Linked DNA regions of Homo sapiens: regions 2 and 3 are each linked to region 1. The links are contacts of gene promoters, found by promoter capture Hi-C in blood cells and fetal thymus (Javierre and others, 2016). All regions are on one chromosome and are shown on one strand. Each heading gives the region's core, a stretch centred on a gene start or on the middle of the fragment in contact. The rest is flanking DNA. Distances are from core to core; before and after follow the strand shown.

Region 1 (4,337 bases), core at 979-3,478:
GGACGCTCTCCCCTCCTTCAGCAACCGCTGGGGAGCATCCAGAATGGTCCGGAGCATGGTGATGGCCGGACTGGGGCAGTCTTCCCCTGCGGGCTCTTAGGGAAGGTCCTGTGACAGCTACAGGTCTCCTGCAGCCTTTATGGAAGAGGGGAGGGAGTCTGCCCAGACGAAGGAAACTCACTATTAAAACGAAAAGTGCAAAGGGTTGCAAGTAGTAGGATGATATTTGGAAACATCTCCATGTCTGTATCACTGTTCACTTCTTATAAATCTCAATAACTCTACCTGGTTCCCAGAATGCCTTCCTGGTAAGCATCGCTTACTAGCTATTTATGTCTGGATTTATATCTAGCCATTAATTTCCCTTGAATTTAATGGCTAGGTATAAATCCAGATAAAAATAGATGCTCTACAGATCACTTAACCCTGTGTTTTTCAAACATCCGACATTTATTTGCCTATCACCTTGATGGTTTATGTCATATCTAAGGACTACCTGTACTATCATTTACTTCATCTTTTTCCTCTAGATCCACTCTTTTAAAATATTGAGATACTGCCAGGTATGGTGGGATGTGCCTGGAGTCTCAGTTACTTGGGAGGCTGAGGTGGGAGGATATCTTGAGCCCAGGAGTTTGAGTCCAGCCTGGACTACATAGCAAGACCCCTAACTCTCAAAAAATTTTTAAAACCAACATAGATATTGATATCATGTTTCAAAAAGTTATTTTATGTGGCATGCAAAAAAAGTATGACCTTTGTTCTAGGTGCTACCCCAAAATATTTCATGTGGCACAGTGTCACTTGGGCTGCCCACTGAGAAACACTGATGTAGACCAACCTTCATCTCATAGACAAGAAATCCGAGCCTCTGAAGGTTAGGAGATTTGTTTGGGGTTGCACAGTTAGTGTCAAACTGGGATGAAATCCCACGCTTTTCAACTTGCCAGCTTATCCTCTACCATGTTCCCTTGCTCTGTGGTTCTAGAAGCACGCTCATTCTTTTGTTTGAGCTACAAACCCCTGATCAGAAAGATGCCTTCATCTGTGAAAATAAAATATTGACTTTCATGATTAGTTCTCTATTCAGGATTTCATATCATTAGTCAGCATTAAGTCACAGTACCTTGTCAAACTTCAAGTAATAAGAGTTTCTGGGGAGAATTTCATTTTCTTTGACGTGGCTTCTGTTGTGGTATCAACAATATCACTCATTTAAATTTTAAAATAGATTACCATCATGAAATCTATCAGGCCCTAAAAATTGTATACTCTTTGACTTAGTAACTCTACTACAAGGAACCCATCCTACAAAAGAAAAAAGGTCAGAGATGCAGCCAAAGACTTATACTCAAAATGATCAATTGCAGAATTATTTTTCTTAGTGAAAAAAGTCAAACATGTTAATGGTGGATTATTAAGCGGCTCTTAAAAATTATATTTTCAAATAATTTTAATGATACAGAAAATACTATTACTATAACGTTAAGTAAAAAAGGGAAATTAAACTGTGTTTTCAACTTTATCTCAATTGTCTAAATATAAATATATGGGCACATTTTTGAGAGAGTAGAGAGATACTCAAATGCCAGTTATTTATAATCAATGACTTCAGTTATCTTCTGTGTATTTCTAAATATTCAATAATGAGCTACTTTTGTAATTAAAGAAGTAAATAATTTTAAATGATTATCACTGAAATTCAATAGTCAGCCTCAGGTGTTGGGAGTACCCCAAACACTGAGGTACTCTGTTCTAAGCCCAGGGCTGGAAGAACCCTCTCACTACTACATATTAACGTGACCAAGGTCCTAAGTGAACCAAATTCTCAGTTAAGTTTTAACCAGTAAATGCATGCAATTACTTAAGATCCTTCATTTCTCTATATAAAGGAGGTATTTCTGAATACAAATTGACTTAGGATATGTATGGATAAGAATAAAAGACAAGCCATGGAAAATTAAAAAACATAGTGAGTGAAGTAAGTACTACAAAGAGAGAGAAACACACACACCCAAATCCCAAAACAAAAACAAACAAAACCAGGAATTTGCCAACAAATCAATAGTAAACTTTACTTAACAGTCAAAATCCTCTGACAGAGACACAAATCACAAGGAAAGATTAAATTTGTCCGGAGAGAGAAAAATCTTACCTTGGAGCCCATGTTGGTGTGAGGCACTCAGTGAGGTATTGGCAGCTGTTAGCAAGACAGCAGGGACACTGTTCTCTGAACGTGGATGTGCTGTTGGATTTATTGCCTCCTGTTATCTGAGGATTCTGTGTATGTGTGTGTGTGTGTGCCTTTGTCCACAAAGATTTAATTGCAACCTCCAACAGGGTTCATTCAGACCCTTAGCTCCCTGCGTCAAAGGCAGGAAGGCAGGGCTGGAGAGGATAAAGAGAGGGCAGATATTAGCCTAAGCAAAGAGGCACTGGACTGTACTGTTTTGCATCTGTGCTTATCTATCATCGAACTCTTTAACTCTTGCCTGGGTCTGAATACAAATTGGAAGCCAAGATGGAACCAGTGTGCAGTTCCTGTTCCTTGCTACTTAGTCAAAGTGGCTCCATGTACCCCAATTAGCTTCCTGGAAAGAAACAATGTATGTTGTTCTCAAGCCATAAAAACCCAACATCTGTGGCCTCTGTAAAGGCTTAGATTATGCACTGTGTCTTCACATCTCAATACTGGCTCAGTGCCTGATACATGGTAGCATCCAATAAATATTTCTTGCATGGATGACTGGATGGTTAACTACAGGAGAAAGTGCAGTTCCTTGTGGGATCTTGAGAGGCTCTAATGATCTATATTATTCTGACATTAAACCATTGGTGGCTCAAAGAACATAAGCAATTTATGAAAAAGCAAATACACTTTACGAGCAAGAGCAGTGCAGAGATTTCCTATTTGTGGAACTGGTGGGCCCCTCCTAATTGTGGGAATTAACTAGGGAACTTTCGATTTAACGCTAAAAAAAAAGAAAATAGTTTTTTAATTTTATTTTTTTTATTTTTGAGACAGAGTCTCGCTATGTCACCCAGGCTAGAGTGCAGTGGCATGATCTTGGCTCACTGCAACCTCCACCACCTGGGTTCAAGCAATCCTCTAATCTCAACCTCCTGAGTAGCTGGGATTACAGGTGCATGCCACCATGCTCAGCTAATTTTTGTATTTTCAGTAGAGACAGGGTTTCACCATGTTGGCCAGGCTGGTCTCGAAGTCCTGACCTCAAGTGATCCTCCTGCCTTGGCCTCTCAAAGTGCTGGAATTACAGACGCGAGCCACAGCGCGCGGCCTAGATGGAAACAGTTTTAAAATGTAAACCTAGAGCGAGAAATAGGGATAGGAAACAAAGACATCAGCAGAATGTATTCATCGCTATAGTTTGCTGCTGTAACAAATTACTACAATCTGGTGGCTTAAAACAACACGTATTTAGTATCTTGCAGTTCTGGAGGTCAGAAGTCCAAAATACATCACACCGGGTTAAAATGAATGTGTCGGCAGGGCTGCATTCCTTCTGGAGATTCTGGGGGATGGTTGTTTCCTTGCCTTTTCCAGCTTCCAGAGATCTCCTGCATTTCTTGGCTCCTAGCCACTTTTACCCTCAAAGCTAGCAGCAATGCATATTCAACTCTCCCTCTGACTCTGAGCCTTCTGCCTCCCTCTTTCACTTGTAAGGACTCACGGGATGACCCTGGGCCCACCCAGATATTCCAAGATCACCTCCCCATCTCAAGATCCTTAATCATATCTGCAAAGTCCCTTTTACCATAGGGGACTACCAAGGCAACATACTCACAGGTTCCAGGATTAGGAGGTGGACATCTCTGGGGTGCCACTGTCCACTCCCTACAGGGAGCATGGCACACTGCCCCCCACTTACATGCAGGGCCTGTGGCCTGAGCCTCTAGGGAATGAGGGGGTTAGGGCCAAAAGATGGAGGAACTGTATTAATAAAGATATTTGCAAGACTCTGGGCATAAGGCAGTATCCTTTTTGGAGTCCAGGTGACAATTCTGCCACCATGCCCTCCACCCTAAGTACAGTGTTAGAACTCTGAGGGTTGACAGCCTCCGGCATAGTGTACCTGTGTCCAATAGAGGGCGCTAGAGGGAGAGGGCTTGGGTAGAGCAGCCTCACAGGAATGTTCCGAGACAGCACCTAACTGGGGATGCCCCCCAAAAATTGGGAAATCATGATTTTGGGAAATTGAGGGCCTGGGAAAGCAGGTATAGACTAAGAATCATCACATGTTGGGCAATAATAAGAATAACAGCAACAATAACAGTAGCTATCATTTATGGATTACGTACTATTTGGGCATGTTTCT
Region 2 (4,337 bases), core at 512-3,011, 560 kb before region 1:
CACAGTGGAACACGGTTATGTAATATTTTTATAATACAGGTATAATGCACTCCATTGTTTCACATTTACAAAACTTCTCAATGTCTTCCTCCAGGTCATCATTAAAATTTGTCCCTATTTGTTGAACTTGACTAAACACGGTGGTTGTTTTATTGTTTAGGGATCCTAAATATATCCATGTTTGAAGGTTGAGATGTAATTCCAAGCACTATCTTTATTAAACTTGGCTACAATTCTGTGGAATGACTTCACTCAATAGTGTACTTGACCCAGATCTTATTGGTTCATGAGAGACAACTATTAAATTTTCAGGAATTTTACAAGCCAGTTGTTAAATGTAACCATTGTTTAAAAGAAATCGTATGAACTTATAATTAAATTATATTTCAAAACAAGGATTAAATATTCAAGATTCATCACTTCCCATTCCTATTACTACATTTTACTGTTACCTAGAAGTTATTCAGGATAGTAGCATATAAATTTGAAAGGGGTATAAATGGAGTTAAAAGTATTTTAAAGCCCTTGCATTGTCCAGGAAGTGGTAAAAGTACTACTTTAAATTAGCCTTTAGTAAGTCAAAGATAAATACACACTCTCTAATGTAACCACTACAAGAATGTAAAATAATGTGTAATTAATAAGCTAATAAAGAGGGGGGAAATAAAAAAGTAATACTTAACTGAAAATAAGGCAAGAAAGGAGAAAAAAAGAAACAAGAAATGGGTGAGAAAAATAGAAATTAAGTAGTAAGATGGTAGATTGAAAGCTAAATCTGTAATTCTATTAAAGGCCAATAGATACCCCAATTACAAGACAAAGATTGACACAGTAGATAAAATAAAATTGAAGTATGCTGCTTAGATGACGGGTTGATAGGTACTGCAAACCACCCTGGCACATGTATACGTAGGTAACAAACCTGCACATTCCACACATGTATCCCAGAACTTAAAGTAAAGTAAATAAAAAAGAGGCATACCTTCAACATAAGGATATAGAATATTTGACAGTAAAGGGTTAAAAAACATATGCAAATACTAACCAAACAGAAACTGGGAAAGCTTAATCAAACTAGACTTTAAGGGAAGAACCACTGTCATCAGATTGATATAGCAATTCTAAAGCTGTATGCATATAATAACATGTCCTTGAGACAAAGAAAAAAGTGGATGAATTAAAGGGAGAAGTAATAATAATCCTTAATCATAGATATTTTAATATACCTTTCTCTGGGGTTCACAGAGGAAACAGGAAAAACAATCTGTGAAGATATTTTGAACAAAAATGTTTCTATACTTTTGCTTTTAACCTCTCTATAACCTGAATTTGAGAAGTCAATCTCATAAACAGCATAAAATATCCTGTCACATTTTTTAAGAATTGAACAATACTATTAACACTCTTCAATACTATATCCACCAACTGTAGAATGTGAATTATTTTCAAGAGTAAATAGAATGTTTACAACAATTAACTACATGCTGGGCCAGAAAGCAGTACTTAACAAATCTCTAAGAATTGAAATTACACAGAGTAGGTTCACAGACCTCAGTAAAATTGAGCCAGAATAACAGAAAGATGACTGGAAAATCCCCAGGTGTTTGGATATTAACCAATAAACTTTTAAAGAATTCATGAATCAGAAACTACTTAGGACCTATTGATAATAAATCCTTTCGGAGGGGAAATCTCTAAGCCAGAATGGGCTTTTCATCTATTCACTGAAAGTGGGGAAATAATGGTCCCTCTTAATGATCTAATGACCTAAGATGATTTCTCTCTTGTATTAATGAATCATGTACTTAAGCCTGTGCCTATGAAGGAGGCTCATCTTACAAGGTCTAGGAGATCACTGGAGGCAAATGGCGAAATATTTTAGATCCGGTCCCCGGGCAGCTACTCCATGGAACACAAGAATCTTCTATTTTATAATGAGCAGTGGCATAGTAAATTACGTGCTAAACCCTTTGTCTTTTCTTCTAGTGCCCAGCACCATTCTCCTAGTGGTAGAATGCCCACCATCGGTCCCTAGACTATTTGGACCACCTCTTCAACAGTGTAGCCCCTCTGAGATTATCTACCATCTACTACCTCTGGTTCCTGATAGCCCTTATTGTCAAGGGATTATTATCTTGACTTTCACCTGGCTAAGAGACCTGCCTCTGATGTTTGAGATTATATACATAAAACCCACAAAAATATTCTGGATTTAAAAAATTTTGTATTCTCCACCAGTGAAGATCTCATCATGCTTTTATCTCCTACTGAACTGCTTACATGTCTTTATGTACTTCCTGTAGCTAGTATAAACCATAAAGCATTTAGAACATAGAACAAAGATAATATTCAAAAGATAATTTTAAGTGTTTAAAAATAGCCAACACAGTATATTAATTGGAGTAATTAACACTAAGTACTGCACACATGCCCCCAAATCTCAGTGGTTTAAAACAACAAAGCTTTAGTTCTCTTTTGAATCACTCTCATGTGTTAATGGAGTTTGGAGTCTCCCCCAAATGGTGACTCAGAGGATCAGGCTACTTCCTTCCATCTTGTACTTTTACCATCTTCTTGTTTTTTTTTTTTCTTTTCTTGAGACAGAGTCTCGCTCTGTTGCCCAGGCTGGAGTGCAGTGGCGAGATCTCAGCTCACTGCAACTTCCGCCTCCCGGGTTCAAGCGATTCTCCTGCCTCAGCCTCCCAAGTAGCTGGCATTATAGGCATACACCACCACGCCCAGCTAATTTTTCTATTTTTAGTAGAAATGGGGTTTCACCATATTGGCCAGGATGGTCTCAATCTCCTGACCTCGTGACCCGCCCACCTCGGCCTCCCAAAATGCCGGGATTACAGGCGTGAGCCACTGCACCCAGCCGGTTTCACCATCTTCTTGCTTCACTGTCATCCTGCTATCACCCAGCTAGTAGATGCAGAGGAACAAAAGATAAGCCTAATCAACGACTGAACCATCTCAGCCAGGAAGGGACACGAGTCAGTTCCATTCACATTCCATTGGCCAGAAAGAGTATCACAACCCTACCTAGATGGAGAGGGACTGTAAAGTATAGTCTTCCCAGTGACCAGGAGGGACGTGGGGTGGTCTGTGACACACATCACGCTGTTTCTTCCTCCAATAGGCATTAAACTGCAGTCTATTAAGGAGGAAGAAAAGAAAGGAAGTAGCATTCACTGATTTGGGGTACCAAGTTTAATGCTACAAACTTCATACATGCTGTGTTTAAACAGTAAGAAAACGTAAAACAAATGTCATTCTCCTCATTTTATACATGAAGAAACTGAAGCATAGAGCTATTATATAAGTAAATTAAAAAGTCAGGAGTTGACTCCAGGTCTATCTGACTCCAAGGCCTGTGTTTCTCTTTTATCATCCCAGGTTTCTCAAAAGGTGGCCCACAGCTCACTTCTATCACAGTAATTTGAGGTGCCTGAGCCTCACACCTTGCTTACTGAATTAGAATATCCAGGGCTGGAGTATAGGAATCTGCAGTTTTAACAAGTTCCCAAGCTGACTCTATACTATAGCGGATCATGCTGTCTCTGCAACACAACAGTGAAATTCTAAACAATCTCTTTAAACAAACTAGAAAATGTACGAAAAAGAAGTAAGATTCAGTAGGCTTAAGAGAGGGGGCCTTAAGGCAAGTGGAAAATCCTACAGAACAAGGAGTTTGAGGCTGGGGAATTCATCCTAAGCCAGTTAGTTTCCTGGGTAATCTTGGGCAAGTCACCTAACTTCACTCAATCTGTCCCCAAAAAAAGTCTACATTTTCTCCATAGTAAAATGTTGCAATCAGGCTAAATAATCTCTAAAGCCTTTTCAAAAGTTATTTGCAAAGATTTAAAGAGCTTTAAACTGAGACAATAAAACACATACAGGATGAAGAAAGTATTAACATTTAAATTAACAGATAATCCTAGCAAGATTTTTTGTAGATATACACAGGCTTCTTCTAAAATTTATATGGAAAGGAAACAGAACTAAAAAGTTAAAACAATTTTGAAAAAGAAGAATAAAGTCAGAGGAATCACAATACCCAGTTTTAAGACTTACTGTGTAACTATAGTAATCAACACAGCATGGTATTTGCAGAGAAAAAGGTCCATAGATCAATGGAACAGATTACAGAACCCAGAAATAGCTTTACGTAAGAATGGCCAGCACATTTATTTTTTAACAAAGATTTAAAAAGCAACTGAATGGAGGAAGGAGACTGTTTTCAAGAAATGGTGTCGGAACAACTGGCTATCCTGAGGCCCAAAGGGGAAGGAAAAAAAAAATTTACAATCTAAACCACACCTTTAACAAAAATTAGA
Region 3 (4,337 bases), core at 755-3,254, 540 kb before region 1:
CCTGTAAGATTACTCTCAGTTAATTGTTCTAGTTATTTCTGGTTCTCAGCAGCATTACAATATTTTGCTAAGATAAGGTAAAAGGAACTGGATGAATCAGAAAGGGAACAAGTGAAAAGGCTAACAATAAGGGGCAAAGAAATATTTAAAATGTATTATAATTAAATAAAATCGAAATGCACAAAAGACTAACCCAACTGGAATTTAAATAGTTCTATGAGATCTTTGAAAGAAGTGATCATATAAGTGAGAACAGAACGGGAATAGAATCCTGTTCTATAGTCACTGGGTGGTAACTTCCCTAAGGCTAGAGACAGAGTGTCAATTCATTTGCTCCCCACCAAGAAAGAGCTGAACTAGGCCTGTGGGAAGGTATTTTGTAAATTCAATAGATGATCATTATTCTTAAAGGCCACATTCTGATGTAAAAGCATACACCGAGACTTACTTTGCACATCAAAGTTACAACTTCCAAGGTCAGTTAAAACTACCACATACATAATTTGCAAAAGGCTTTTACTACTGTAAATGCCTACTTTCTGTGTTCTTTTTCTGTTTTTTTATGGCTCACCAATAAAGAGGTATATCATGATCACCTCTTCTCTAACGACTCCTCCCCTGCCTCTTCAGGACTCTGAAGGGGAAAATTGACAGTAAATATGAATGTTTCCCTAGCCCCTCTAAAAGTACAAAATTAAAGAGGCCTGTTATCCTGTAATGAAAATGTTCTACTTAAATGAAATCTCATTTTCAAGTGACCCAACCACAGAACAATCAACAATAACAGGCTTTATGTCCAAATGGGAGAGGAGAAAGGCACAGCATGCTTGCCCTTGGTTAAGAAGGGTTGTATTTAAACAATGAGAGACAAACATGTCTACATCATGGGGTCTGGGGGAAATATGCTAGCTATTGTTGTTTTTGGATTAATGAGAATTTTGCTCCCAATTTTCCACAGAATGGTTTTTATTTTCTAATATTTTCATTGCACCATTAACCACTGCCAGGAAGAAGCCAAAGAGTTGCTAAAATCTACTGTATCACATGTGAAACAATGTGGAAACAGGTCTGTCACAAAACTAGGGTACCCCCATCACTCTTGGTCAGGGCACATAGTTCCATAGCAGGACCAGGGAGGAGATACTCAAAATGGGTAATGAATATTGAAAACTATGTATCATACCAAGTCTTGGGAGTCAGGAAGATGGGGCAGGTAATTTAACATTTGACAAAGCTTCCCTCTCTTCTTCCACCTCAAGGGGAAGAGAGCTGCTTTTCTTAATCAGGCCATCCACAACGTGCAACTGCTCTGACCCGCTCCATGTCATCATAAACAAATGGCAAAATATTAAGGAGTCTCCTGAATTTATAACGATATATCCATTTGCATTATCTAAAATGCTCTTTGGAACACTCACTTTTAAGAACAGTTTTGTTTTGTTTTGTTTTTGTTTGTTTTTTTAATGAGACAGTTTCATTCCGTCTCTCAGGCTGGAATGCAGTGGTACAATCACTGTCCATTGCAGCCCAGACCTCCCTGGGCTCAGGTGATTCTCCCACCTCGGCCTCCCAAGTAGCTGGGACTACAGGCGCACCACCATGCCCATTCAACCAAGCTCAGTAAACGATCCCACCTGCTGATGAGACCTTTCAATGTTCAATGCACCTGGGGGGAAATAACAAAGATATATAAGGTATTTTATTTCCCTCAATGATACTGTAGTGAGCAAATAGCTTATTAACATCTCCCATCTCAACCTCTAGCACTTGCCAGCCACACATCAGTGTAATATTTGTATATTTTGCTCACTTTATGAAATGTATTTATACATATGTACATTTACATATATTACACATGTATGGAAAATGACTATGCAACAAATTTAAAGCACATGATCCCACACATGTAAATCTCCCAACTCTCAAATCTCACTGTTTTCTCCTTGATTCCTGAAATTCTCCAGACTCCTTGGAATTCAGCTGCTAGAGTATTCTTGACTGAACATCAAACTGCTGCTAAAGACATTCTCAATGTAACTTTGAGTCCCAAACACAGCCATATTTTCATTTACTTAGGTAAAATGATTACATCTGGAAAATGTACTTGGACTCAAACTCAAAATCAGTTCTCCACTACATAAGAAAATAACAACATTAATTCTAAGCAGATTCTTCTAACAGGGAAGCACTATATAGCATTTCTCAGTAGTTGATCTGGCACACTTGAATCTAATCTGAATTTCTAACAACTTTGCTTCAGAAGTTTTTCCATGAAATTTGGTCTTTGCCTGACTCGCATGCTATAAATTCTATTAACCAAACTCTGCAGGCCCTTACACTATTCTTAAACAATTCTACACTTGAAAAAAGATTATGAAATCTTTAGCAAACACACTCTGTATTTCAGAAAGTAGAATTATGAGCTTAAGACTTAAGTTTTGGTTGTTTTTTTTTTCCTTTCAGATTATCCAAAAGGCTGGATTCAGTGCCTGAACAATCATTTTCTAAGACAGAGGAATGAAACCATAGAGAAACCCATTAGAGTTCAGACTGATCCTGTGAGACTCAGGCTGCTTAAACACAAAGCAGGATCATTTTGTAATCCATTTCTATTAGGTCTCTCCTTCCATGGAGTTCTCAAGTCTCCCAGGGATGCGGAATCTACCTGTATTACCAATAATGGTGACTGGTCTTTTTTTTTTTTTTTTTTTTTTTTTTTAAACCAACCCTCTCTCTCCCCTTCACTTCTCCTCCCAACAAGACCTTCAAGTGTTCAAGCTTTTCCAGGTACCACAACGCCAGCCTCACCCAATCCCTCTATGCCCACAATCCCTACCCGTCCTGGGGAGTCTGGGCTTTCTCCAGTGATAACAGATGGAAGTTAGTTGGATAATAAACCAAATCACATCAGATTTACAAGCTGCCTTAATCTAGTTCAGAAGATGCCTCCTAAAAGAGGCTGCTGCTGAGACTTGGAGCAGCAGGGCGAACCTGGGAGAACTCTCATTTTGGAGCTCTTCAAATGTTTTTATCTGGACAGCTGCAACCATACCAGTCCTACTGCATGGGAAACTCCATTAAAACAAGATGTCCACAGGAGTGGACACGATCTTTCAAAAAGAAGTACATTGTAAAAAATGTTTCACAACACACACTCAACATACCTTTTTAAATGTATGAAACATATTGAAATACGAGGGTGAAAACAAAGAAAGAAACAAAACCTGTAGGCATTCACTCATATCCTCCCATAAGACTGCCTTAAATGCATTTACAAAACACACACCTTCCTAGATAATGTACAGAAGAGGCAGAAAGTGACTGAAAGCAAAGTGATGGCTCATAATTACCAGGTGACCCCCAAATGCCTTCTGGTTGTTGGCCGGGGCTTTGCTACACAGTGTCCTCAGCAATTTTTTTCTGCGAAGGGACAGATACTTAAATATTTTCAGCTTTGTGGGCTCCATGAGGTTTCTGCCTCATCTTCCTCTTTGGTTTATTTTACAACCCTTTATAGGTGTAAAAACCATGTAGTCCAATCACCTCTTCCTTGGGAGATATTTGGGCAACGCCTGATGTCTGTGTCTAACTGGACATCAGTTAGGAAGAGTACTGAAAACTAAGAGGCTTCTGTTTGAAAGGAAAATGGCTTGTTAAATAGGCACTAAAACAGAGTTCCATTCTGCCTGAATCATTTTGTTAGCTTTACACAATTCCAAGAGAAATCTTAGAGACATCTGTGTTTCCCTTTAGTTTTTATTTTGTTTGTTTTTGCTGTAGGAAGGGTAGAGATCAGAGAAGACAGAAGAGAATGAATCTTGCAAAATGACTCTGACTCATATAAAGTAAAACGGTTACAATGACTAAGTTCTAGAAAATAATTGTAAGGAGGAAGAATACAACTTCAAGAAATAAAACATAAAGCTACAATAACAGAGTATCATTCTAGGGTAAATATGAAACAGATCAACAAAACTAAATAGCACAGAAACAGACCCTAAGCTATAAAAGACATTAATACATGATGAAGTGATGACAAAAGGCTATGGGGAAGCTGAGAGTAGTGGCTCATGCCTGTAATCCCAGGACTTTGGGAGGCCAAGGAGGGTGGATCACTTGAGCTCAGGAGTTTGAGACCAGCCTGGGCAAAAAGGTGAAATGCCTTCTCTACAAAAACAAAACAAAACAAAACAAAACTAGCTGGGCATGGTGGCACACACACACCTGTAGTCCCAGCTACTCGGGAGGCTGAGGTGAGAGGATCGTTTGGGCCCAGGAGATTGAGGGTGCAATGAGCTGCTGTGCTTTCACCACTGCACTCCGGCCTGGGTGACAAA

What was found. Contacts are between HindIII fragments. The CHiCAGO score rates a contact against its expected background, and 5 or more counts as called.
Region 2: a fragment that was not itself captured here is called in contact with the fragment with the promoter of SLC18A1 in region 1 in 1 of 17 cell types (neutrophils); the score reaches 5.6 in neutrophils.
Region 3: a contact is called between a fragment that was not itself captured here and the fragment with the promoter of SLC18A1 in region 1, in 1 of 17 cell types (neutrophils). The highest score is 5.4, in neutrophils.

The regions. Positions count from the first base shown.
Region 1 is chr8:20,180,908-20,185,244 of GRCh38, forward strand. SLC18A1 (solute carrier family 18 member A1) reads right to left here and starts at 2,229. Exons shown (of 16, transcript NM_003053.4): 1 at 2,156-2,229; 2 at 1-180. The coding sequence starts at 57. The HindIII fragment of the contact is 10,670 bases long and covers 1-4,337 here.
Region 2 is chr8:19,622,100-19,626,436 of GRCh38, forward strand. The region is part of intron 1 of CSGALNACT1 (chondroitin sulfate N-acetylgalactosaminyltransferase 1); the gene reads right to left. Among named protein-coding and RNA genes, the nearest start is that of CSGALNACT1-AS1, 54 kb to the right of the region's middle. The HindIII fragment of the contact is 1,398 bases long and covers 1,063-2,460 here.
Region 3 is chr8:19,638,437-19,642,773 of GRCh38, forward strand. All of the region lies in intron 1 of CSGALNACT1 (chondroitin sulfate N-acetylgalactosaminyltransferase 1), which reads right to left. LOC124901900 (a long non-coding RNA gene) reads left to right here and starts at 2,715. Exons shown (of 3, transcript XR_007060842.1): 1 at 2,715-2,787. RefSeq lists an enhancer at 1,346-1,890. The HindIII fragment of the contact is 1,544 bases long and covers 1,233-2,776 here.